Regions from separate parts of the Homo sapiens genome. Here region 1 is linked to region 2. The links are contacts of gene promoters, found by promoter capture Hi-C in human tissues and cell types (Jung and others, 2019). All regions are on one chromosome and are shown on one strand. Each heading gives the region's core, a stretch centred on a gene start or on the middle of the fragment in contact. The rest is flanking DNA. Distances are from core to core; before and after follow the strand shown.

The links. The method cuts DNA at HindIII sites, captures the fragments that hold promoters and counts their contacts. A contact is called where the count stands out against the background at its distance.
Region 1: a contact is called between a fragment that was not itself captured here and the fragment with the promoter of INSL6 in region 2, in 1 of the 25 tissues and cell types used here (lymphoblastoid cells).

Annotation. Positions count from the first base shown.
Region 1 is chr9:5,406,993-5,411,891 of GRCh38, reverse strand. The region is part of intron 3 of PLGRKT (plasminogen receptor with a C-terminal lysine); the gene reads left to right. Among named protein-coding and RNA genes, the nearest start is that of PLGRKT, 28 kb to the left of the region's middle. The HindIII fragment of the contact is 4,898 bases long and covers 1-4,638 here.
Region 2 is chr9:5,181,486-5,187,063 of GRCh38, reverse strand. It overlaps INSL6 (insulin like 6), which reads left to right and starts at 1,425. Exons shown (of 2, transcript NM_007179.3): 1 at 1,425-1,750. The coding sequence starts at 1,462. The HindIII fragment of the contact is 6,352 bases long and covers 600-5,578 here.

The DNA of each region.
Region 1 (4,899 bases), core at 940-3,439, 220 kb before region 2:
GTTTATTTGTGAAGAACTATTGAGTCATTTTATTCAAGAATAGGAAATGTTTTTCCATTTGTTTAAGTCTATTTTAATGTCTTCCAGAAGCTTATAAATAAACTGTAGGCTAAACTAAAGAAAAAATGAAATTTTAAGTTAAATTTAAAACTGTAATATCTTGTCAGTAATTGGAAATATATTCTTATAGTTGGATTTCTTACCTAGCCAGCAAGAGGATGTGTTAGCAGTGGCTTAACGTCATGGTATGGCTACTGAGGGCTGTGGATTCATTCTTCTTTGTGTGCACTTGCAGGTTCACAGGCTTTGGAGTCACATATACCTGTGTCCGAACCTGACTCTATCACTTACTGGTTCAGTAACCATGGATAAGTGACACAGGCTCTCTGAGTCTGGCTTCTTCATCTCTAAGATGGGGAGAAGGATACCCAAGAATTGGTTCATGTAGCAGAGTAGATGCTCAATAGTGTTTCCCTCTTTTCTTTTCTTTTCTTTTTTTTTTTTTTTGAAACAGGGTCTTGCTCTGTCTCCCAGGCTGGAGTGCAGTGGCATAACCTTGGCTCGCTGCAACCTCTGCCTCCCAGGTTCAAGTGATTCTCCTGCCTCAGCCTCCTGAGTAGCTGGAATTATAGACGCATGCCACTGTGGCCCGGCTAATTTTTGTATTTTTAGTAGAGACGGGGTTTCACCATATTGGCCAGGCTGATCTCAAACTCCCGACCTCAGGTGGTCCACCTGCCTCGGCCTCCCAAAGTGTTGGGATTACAGGCGTGAGTCACCGCAACTGGCCTGTTTCCATCTTTTCTTGTCTGCTTTCTTTTCTCTTATTTGCTCATGATGACTACTCCATTTTTTCTTTCATCTCTAGTTTCATTATATACATAACCAGAGAGTAAGTTAAGCTAAATATTATCATACAAATACCCATTTTGTTTAGCCATATAACAATTAATATTATATCAAGCTGAAGTAAATAATGCTGATTTATTTCATCTAGAGTGTTGTGTATTGGTCTCAAGGTAAAAGGCTGTGCTTTAAAAAATGGAGACAAAATTTTATTGTTCATTTGTAAACGCTTATTTGATATACTGATGCCATTTCTAATCTTTCTCTGTGGTACAGGCCATAAACCTGTACTAGAAGTGAAACGTTTTAATTTTCTACTGTGGATCTGCCTTATTCCAAGAGCTATGCAACAGACAATAGTGTTAGACAAAGTTTCAGTATGAACAAATTAATTCATTTTTTATAGAGAAGCATAATCTAAAACATAATTTTCCCAACCCTGCCTGCTTAAACTGCTTATTGCCTTAATTATGATTTCAACATGATTTTGGTGACTTCTGTTAATTTCTTTTTCTTTTTTCTTTCTTTTTCCTTTTTTTTTTTTTTTGAGACAGAGTCTTGCTCTGTTACCCAGGCTGATGTGCAGTGGCACGATCTTGGCCCACTGCTCACTGCAACCTCTGCCTCCTGGGTTCAAGTGAGCATGTCAGCTAATTTTTGAACTTTTTTTTAGTATAGATGGGGGTTTCACCATGTTGCCTAGGCTGGTCTTAAACTCCTGACCTCAAGTGATCCACTTGACTCAGCCTCCCAAAGTGCCGGGATTACAGGCATGAGCCACTGTGCCCACCCACTTCTGTTAATTTCTATGTCTTGAGTTTATAGTGAGGTTGATTGCACAGATTGTATAATGTAGTGTAAACTTTTATACTTGAAAATGATCACCTTAAATGCTTATTTCAGTCACAAATAGAAAAATGAATAGGTACAATTAAGGCCAGTAATAGCAATTTTTCTTGCTTTTAAAAATAAAGTTTTAAAGTCAAAATATTATTTTATTATTTTAAAAGCAATCATTTTATCATCTTATATGCTTGGTTTCTAGGGTTTTTAAAGGTAAAAATTTCTCCAGGTCCCACTTCTCCTATGCTTGTTCTTAGATAAGAATTTGAAAAGCCATGCCTTAGAATGTTTCTGGAAAAAAAAGTTAGAATTTCATTATTCCAAGATACATTGGAGGTATTCCAAGATACACTGGGTAAACACTCTCATTCCAAATAGGAGAATTTGGCCAAAATAAAGGGGCTACAGGCCCCATGCATCTAAAACCCAGCAGGGCAGTCATTAAACCTTAAAGCTCCAAACTGATCTTCTTGGACTTCATGTCCCACATCCAGCGCACACTGGTGTGAGGGATGGGCTCCCAAGGCTTTGGGCAGCTCCATCCCTGTGGCTTTGCAAGGTTCAGCCCCCACAACTGCTCTCATGGGCTGGTGTTGAGTGTCTGTGGCTTTTCCAGGAGCAGGGTCTGAGCTGTCAGTGGATCTACCACTCTGGGTATATATATAAAGGGGAGTTTATTAAGTATTAACTCACACGATCACAAGATCCCACAATAGGCCATCTGCAGGCTAAGGAGCAAGGATAGCCAGTCCGAGTTCCAAAATTGAAGAACTCGGAGTCCGATGTTCAAGGTCAGGAAGCATCCAGCACGGGAGAAAGATGTAGGCCAGGAGGCTACGCCAGTCTAACCTTTTCACGTCTTTCTGCCTGCTTTATATTCACTGGCAGCTGATTAGATGGTGCCCATCCAGATTAAGGGTAGATCTGCCTTCCCCAACCCACTGACTTAAATGTTAATCTCCTTTGGCAACACCCTCACAGATATACCCAGGATTAATACTTTGCATCCTTCAATCCAATCAAGTTGACACTCAGTATTAACCATCACAGTGCCCCAGTGGAATCTTTGTGGGGGCTTCAACCCCATATTTCCCCTCTGTACTGCTCTAATAGAGGTTCTCCATGAGGAATCTCCCCCTGCAGCAGGCTTCTGCCTGGACATCCAGACTTTTCCATACATCCTCCAAAATCTAGGAAGAGGCTCCCAAGCCTCAACTCTTATCCGCTGCATACTCACAGGCTTAGCATCACATGGAAGCTGCCAAGACTTACAGCTTGCACCCTCTGAAGCAGTGACCAGAGCTGTATCTGTATCTGAGCTGTATCTGACCTGAAGCTGGAGCTGGAGTGACTGTGATGTGGGGGAACAGTGTCCCAAGGCTGTGCAGGGAAGTGGGGCTCTGGGCCTGGCCCAGGAAACCATTCTGTCCTCTTAGGCCTCTGGGCCTGTGATGGGAGGGGCTGCTGCAAAGGTCTCTGAAATGTCTTCAAGGCCTTTTCTTTATTGTCTTGACTATTAGACTTGGCTCCTCTTTACTTATGCAAATTGATGCAGCCTGCTTGAATTCTTCACCCAGAAATGGGCTTTTCTTTTCTACCACATGGCTATGCTACAAATTTTGTAAACTTTTATGCTCCCTTTTAAATATAAGTTCCAGTTTTAGGTCATTTCTTTGCTTGTGCATATGAGCCTAGGCTGCTAGAAGCAGCCAGTCTACATCTCAAATGTTTTGCTGGTTAGAAATTTCTTCCACCAGATACCGTAAATCATCACTCTCAAGCTCGAAGTTGCGCATATCCCTTGGCAGGGGCACAGTGCAGCCAGGCTCTTTGCTAAAGCTTAAGAGAAGTGACTGCTCCGCTTCCCATAGGTTTTTCATTTCCATCTGAGACCTCATCCACCTGGCCATCTCTGTCCATATCACTATCAGCATTTGGGTCACAACCATTCAGCAAGTCTCTAGGAAGATCCAACTTTCCGTCATCCTTCTGTCTTCCTCTGAGCCCTCCACACTCTTCCAACCTCTGCCCATTTCACAGTTCGAAAGCCACTTTCAGTGTGAACAAGATAATATGATTTTATAGCAAAATATAATCTAAAATAAAACTTTTTTTCTTGCCCCTCCAAATTTAGACCAGTTATTCCCTCAGAGAAAATTTCTACATGTCTTTGGTGGGCTTCTGTTAAATTCCATGTCCTGGACTTACAATAGAGTTGTCTATATACAGATTAGGCAATGAAACACTAAACCTTTGTAGTAGTACTTGAAAATGGCAGCATTAAATGCTAATATCAGTCATACACACACAGACACACACACACATAGTTACAGATGCAATTAAGAGTGGCAATAGCATTTTGCTTTTCTTTTAAAATTATGGTTTTAAGGTCAAATGTTACTATTTTTAAGCCAATTATTTCAAGATCCTATCTAACTTGGTTCCTAGGGTTTTTAGGGTAAAGTCTCCAAATTCTCCACTTCTCCTGTTCTTGAGTTATCACTTTAGGTGTGGATTTGCAAAGCAATGCTTCAGAATTTTTTTTTTTTTGAAAAATTTGTAAGAACAACATTAGAATGCTGTCTAGAGGTGTAATCAGACATGTTTATGTTATGGATAGAACCCCAAATAGAATATTGTAATACTAATTTATTTACTCAACACTTTTTAAAGCCCTGACAATATGCCAGGCCCTGTGCTAGTCAATAAGGTTATAAAGATAAAAACACAAGGTTCAGAAGTTCTATAATAATTAAATGTTCTGAAGTGTTTCAAATTATATCACATAGTGCTTTCCTTGGAAGAAGAACAATTTAGATTATGTTCAATAAACACAAATTTGGTGTTTTCTTTGTGTGTATGAAAAATTAGTGATGTCAGTTTAAGTTCATGGGTAGGTTCAGTTCAAGTATATTTACTGAAGACAAATTAGCAATATGGGGCCATTGGGTTAGGATTTTATTTATTATGGTAAGATAATTTTGTCATTTAGCATCTGAATTTTTGTTATATATGAGAACATTCATTTGATTGTCAATCATTGTACATGTTTTAGATGCCAAATTATAGAATAAAATTATGTACTCCAAAGTAAAAATATTAATTTGAAGAAATATTTACTTTGAGAAAATTTTATACATGAAGACCTCAAAGTTTTAAAAGCAATATAAAAGTGAGGGACTATGGGTGATTTTTCTTTCCTGAAACACT
Region 2 (5,578 bases), core at 176-2,675:
TATGCTTGATTTCTTCTTTTTTATCTTTTATATATCTACTATAGGTTTTGCCTTGTGGTTACCACAAGGCTTACATTCATCTCAGTATGATTAATATTTTCCGTTCTCAAAAACCTTACCTGATAAAGTTCTGACTAGGACTCATGGCCCACTATAGTTTGGACATAAGTTATTTTTTAAGGAAGGTGATTAAATTTTACTAATCTATATTATATCAACCATTTAAAAAATCCAATTGGCAGTTAATTTAACAGCATTCATGGATGCCACTGGGAAGCAGGGAAAAGATAGGGAAACGGAAAATTAAGAAAAAGACATAGAGTCAGAAGACAGAAAAGAAAGGGAGAAAAAAATAAAATTGTATAGGGAAATGGTGAGATCACTGATAAGCTTGCACCTGTGGCTTCAGCATCCTGAACCTTATTCCTGAGACAGCCACCGAATGCCCTCTTGTGGCCGATAGTACATCCTTCCACGCCAACACACTAGTAACACAGAACTTCATTTAAAATGATAAAGCTACCTATGCCGATTGCGCTTCGCTTCCCTGCCCCTTCCCTCCTAACTGAGCAAAATTATCTCACCTAAATGAGCATTTCATGCTGCATGCTGTTATTCTTACAAGGCAAATCCTCTAGGGGTCCCTGTCACAAGTTAATTTGGTAATACACAATCCTCTACATTATCTAACCGAAAGAACCAGATTTCCATCCCAGGTACCTCAAGACAGCGTCCCTACTTCTTTTTTCTGGAGATTGAGGCTAAGGCCCATGCCTCCCTGTGAACCAGTAGGATTTTTCTGAAGAAGCTTTGAACCTGACTAAACGCACATGGCCATATGCAACACTTAAACGTTTCACCACATATTTGATTGCCAGCTAAATGCCAGATCCCGGGGTACGATGGAAAGCAAGAACAGACGCAGGCCCTTGCCTTCATGAAGCGGGGGTCTCAGGAAAGAGGTTACACGCCCACAAATGGAAACAGGTCGATTAACACCGTGAAAGAGATGACAGGGGGTTTCTGTGAGGGAGACGAAGCTTTATTAACAACCTGGCAAACAAGAACGAGAAACGCATTCCAGGTGGAGGGAGCAACACTTTTTAACCTACGTTATCAGGTAACAGGGATCCTATGTTCTCACGCTTGGTGAGGAATCTCCCATTGAGGAAGGAAAGAAAAATGAATCAAACTAGGGGGTGGCGGGGTAGTGAGGGGATTTTTGGCTTTCATTTTAGGAGCCAGGGCCTGCTACCTTCGACCACCTGAGACCCCTGAGCTGGCGGGAAAGCCTTGACGCAGCCGGCGCGCGCCTTCCCTTGAAGTTCTGGCGACGCCCCCACGCGCTCGGAATTCCGCAGTGTTTGTGCGCGCCGCTCGGCCTGGCGCAGGCGCAGACAGGGAGCAGGGTCCGGCCGACCGCCATTGCACAACGCGGAGGACTAGCCTGGGGTCACAGGGATGCCGCGGCTCCTCCGCTTGTCCCTGCTGTGGCTTGGACTCCTGCTGGTTCGGTTTTCTCGTGAACTGAGCGACATCAGCAGTGCCAGGAAGCTGTGCGGCAGGTACTTGGTGAAAGAAATAGAAAAACTCTGCGGCCATGCCAACTGGAGCCAGTTCCGTTTCGAGGAGGAAACCCCTTTCTCACGGTTGATTGCACAGGCCTCGGAGAAGGTCGAAGCCTACAGCCCATACCAGTTCGAAAGCCCGCAAACCGCTTCCCCGGCCCGGGGAAGAGGCACAAACCCAGGTAAAAATCGAAACCGAAGGCATGTTTGTTCACCTCTGTATATTTCTTATTCCTGCATTTGCTCTGCCAGAAGGTGAGCTTCCCCAGGAAGTGGAATTTGTGCCTAGTACACAGCTCTTTAAAAAATTGTAAAAAACAGTGTATTGAAAATATACAAAACTTCAATGAAGCGCTTTTTTTTTTAACTTGGAGGAAATAAATGTACACTTGTAAGTCTACATATTTATGTAAGAATGTTGTTCTTTTCTGGAGTGCCAGTCATCTGGCAAACTCCTTTTTGTCCTTCAAAGCCCAACTTAAGTATCATTTTCCCTGTGAAGTCATCATTGACCTTTTCATGGCCAATGGCTCCATTGTCCTTTCTACCACAGTATCTAGCACATAGTTGTATTTGACTGTCGTCATTGGCTACAGAATCAGCCCAACCTTGTAGAAGATAAAAATGCAGAGTACCTTGTTCAAAAAAGCAGGAAAGGGCCATGAAAATAAAGGTAGTAAAATATAAAACTGTTTTCCTTACTTGTCCATATCCCCTGGTCACGTACCAGGAGATAGGCCTGGTCCGTTCTCCTATCAGGCTTCATTTAAGAGTTTACGTACTTGTATTTCATTCACTTAAAGTTTCAAAGGTAAATTTATTCAGAACAACAAAGGAACATTTAAACCAAATGCAAGGCCTGTGTGACTACATAGGTTTCAGTCCCATAAAGTCAGCCCTATATACCATACTGTATTATAGGGACTATTTCATGCATATTTTTGTCTGAAATGCTTAGCAGATGGCCTAGCACATCGCATGTGTTTAATATGCGCTGAATTTATACTTGATGCTTTCAAGCAGTCTGCAGGAAGGATATTCTTGTTCCAGATTCATTGGTATATCTTACTATGTTTTTACATTTTGTGACTAAGACATTTTAGTCCCAGTATGATTTGTCATTTTAAAAGAAATTGCACTTTGTTTATAGTGTATCCATAGGAAGAAGATTACTGCCTTTTACAGTAATTCAGTTGATTTGATTTGGACAAATCTTGTAAAAGTGAAGATTTCTGAAATTAAGGAAATGAGTAAACTATCATGCCAAAAAGAGACCCTAATGTAGAGGACTGAAAAAAGTCAAACAATGCACATTGTAGGCACTCATTAGCTTTTTTGGAATGAATGAATAGAATTTATAAAGTCACTGTTGCTGAAAGAATAAAAACTTTTAAAGACAGAAACCATGAGACTGATTCATGATCATTTTCAAACCGACCCATCAAACTAACCCACATACAAACCTCACCTTGTCCTTCTGTTATAATGAAGGAAGTGTCTCTCCCCAGTCTTCTACTTTTACTTTAGTTCAGTGACTCTCACGCTTTAATGTGCATATGAATCATTTGGGAATCCTGTTAATTTACCGACTCTGAGTTAGTAGACCTGGGGTGGGGCCTGATATTTTTCGTTTTTAACTAGCTCCCAGGTGCTGCTAGTTCGTGGCCCACACTTTTGAGTAACAAGGTCCAGTTTACTGTCTGTCTCTCTCTTTTTTTTTTCTTTTAAACTCCTCTTTCTTGTTCTTTTCTCCCAGGAGTGCAAGGAGAGCCTTCCCTTTCTGCTTTATGTTGGGTGGGCATTTCTCTCACATCAAATACTGTGCTTTCACTACCTATGCTATAATACTGTAGTCAAAATTTTATTTTTAGACCTCCAAGCTTGAGGCTGTTATTTAAAGAGAGGTTGGAATGCCTTTTCTCAACAAAGTGCTCTAAAGACAGTTTTCTTAATAAAAATGTTCAACCTTAAAACTCAGCTTGTTAATGATCCTTTTGTTTTAAGTATTATTCACACTCCCCTGGAAGAATAAATGTCATTAATAATGAGCAGGAAGCTGCAATGAAACAAGACTTGTAGAAAATAAAAATGTATCTGAAAATATTTGAAAATTGTTATACCCACAAAACCTGCTACTATGGAAACTATGTAAAAGACAGTTTGCTGAAGTGGAAATACTATGTAACAGTAAAACCACAGTTGTATTGAAATATGTAGAGGAAGGAAAAATGGGTTAGGTTATCAACATGAATTGTATTATAATTTTAAAAATTATTAATCTATAAGGGAAGATGACATTTATTCTGTCCTGTTAATTTCTAGGAAATAATTTAGAAGTTGCAGAGATGTATATGTTTCTAATATAGAATACATAATTATGACATCATTTTTATATATGAATATGGCTGGAAAGTTGATTACTTTTTATTTCACTTTTACCAGCAGGACAAGTTGTTGTGTTAGATCAAGTCAGTTGTCTGAAATTTTAATATCCTGATGATCTACTTGAGTCTGACACAGAAAAATATAATTTGCTACGCTGCTATTAAAAAATGCTTTTTTTCAAAGCTACTTATACATATCTTGAATCTGTAATTGTGTGCTTCTTGTTAATGGACCCTGAAGGTGGAGGCAGTATCTCCAAGACCTACCCCGTAATGTGGCACCATGAAGTTGACATCATATTTCTAAATTACGACTGAGTATTGTGCTTCCGAGATATTAGTGCCAGGTGAAATCATTAATGTTTCAAAATCAGCTTTTCATAATCTGTAACCCCTATTCCAGTTAGATTAATCATATTCCCATATTCTTAGTCTTCATGTCACATATTCTTGTTTTTTTTGTTTCTTTATGTTTCAGATATCATCACAACTAGTCTGTAAAGGGCCCTTCTCTTTATATATTAGTTCAACAAAATTTGAGTACCTATCATGTGTTAGGCACTCTTCTTGGTGATTGGGATGTTAGAGTAAACGGTGAAGGCTCCTACCCTCATGAAGCCTACAGAATAGTAAAGATAGACAATTAACATAAGTAAATTATAATTTACAGAAGGTGATTATCCTCACTTAGCCCCTTTCTCCACTCCCATTCTCCTCCTCTCCTTGGCAATTGTTGTAATGTGTTTATTATATATTTTTTGTTTTTATAAGTTTTTGCAAATTATGCATTCTTTCCTGTTCATATGTTTTAAGATATATCTAAAAGGCATTTAAGATCTATATCTTATTGTTGCTATGTGAACATTTAGTCCATTGCTTCTAACTACTGCATAATACTCATGTGCATTCCTCACATTTTACTGATTTATTCAGTTTTGAACACCTAACCTATGTAGCCTTGAACTCCCTACCACTACAGATAACACTGCCATGAACATCATTGTATGTGTCCCCTTATGAACCTAGAAGTGTTTCTGGGATACACATCTAGAGTGGAATTGCTGTGTCATGAAGTATGTGTATGTTTAATTTGCCTGAGGAGTATCAGATTGCTCTTCAGAGTGACTACACCAATGTATAGTTGCACCACCAATCCTGTGTCCTCATATCTATGTCAACAATTAGCATTATACAGTTATTAACTTTTACCAGTGTAATAGATGTAAAATGACACTATATTTCTATTTTAACTTGCTCTGGGTCTGAACATCTTTTCATATACATGTTAACCTTTTGGATTTTCTCTTAAAATTTCCTGTTTATATATTTTGCCCAATTCTTGTTGGAATTGTTATCATTTTCCAGTTGGTTTATAGGAGTTAATCAAATCTAGATACAGTAACAACTAGTTGTTGGTTTTAGATGTCACAAATATGTTCTCCCATTTTGACATCTGTCTATTGCTGTTGCTTGACAGAAAGCCTTAACTTTTATATAATTAAGCAGTAAGTGTTTTGCCTTATGTATTAGAGGTCCTTTTCTGTCCTTCTGTTAACTTTTCAGTTTTACTTTTCACATTAAGTCCTTAATTATTAGGCTAATTTTTAGTTCTGGTCTCGGTAGGAA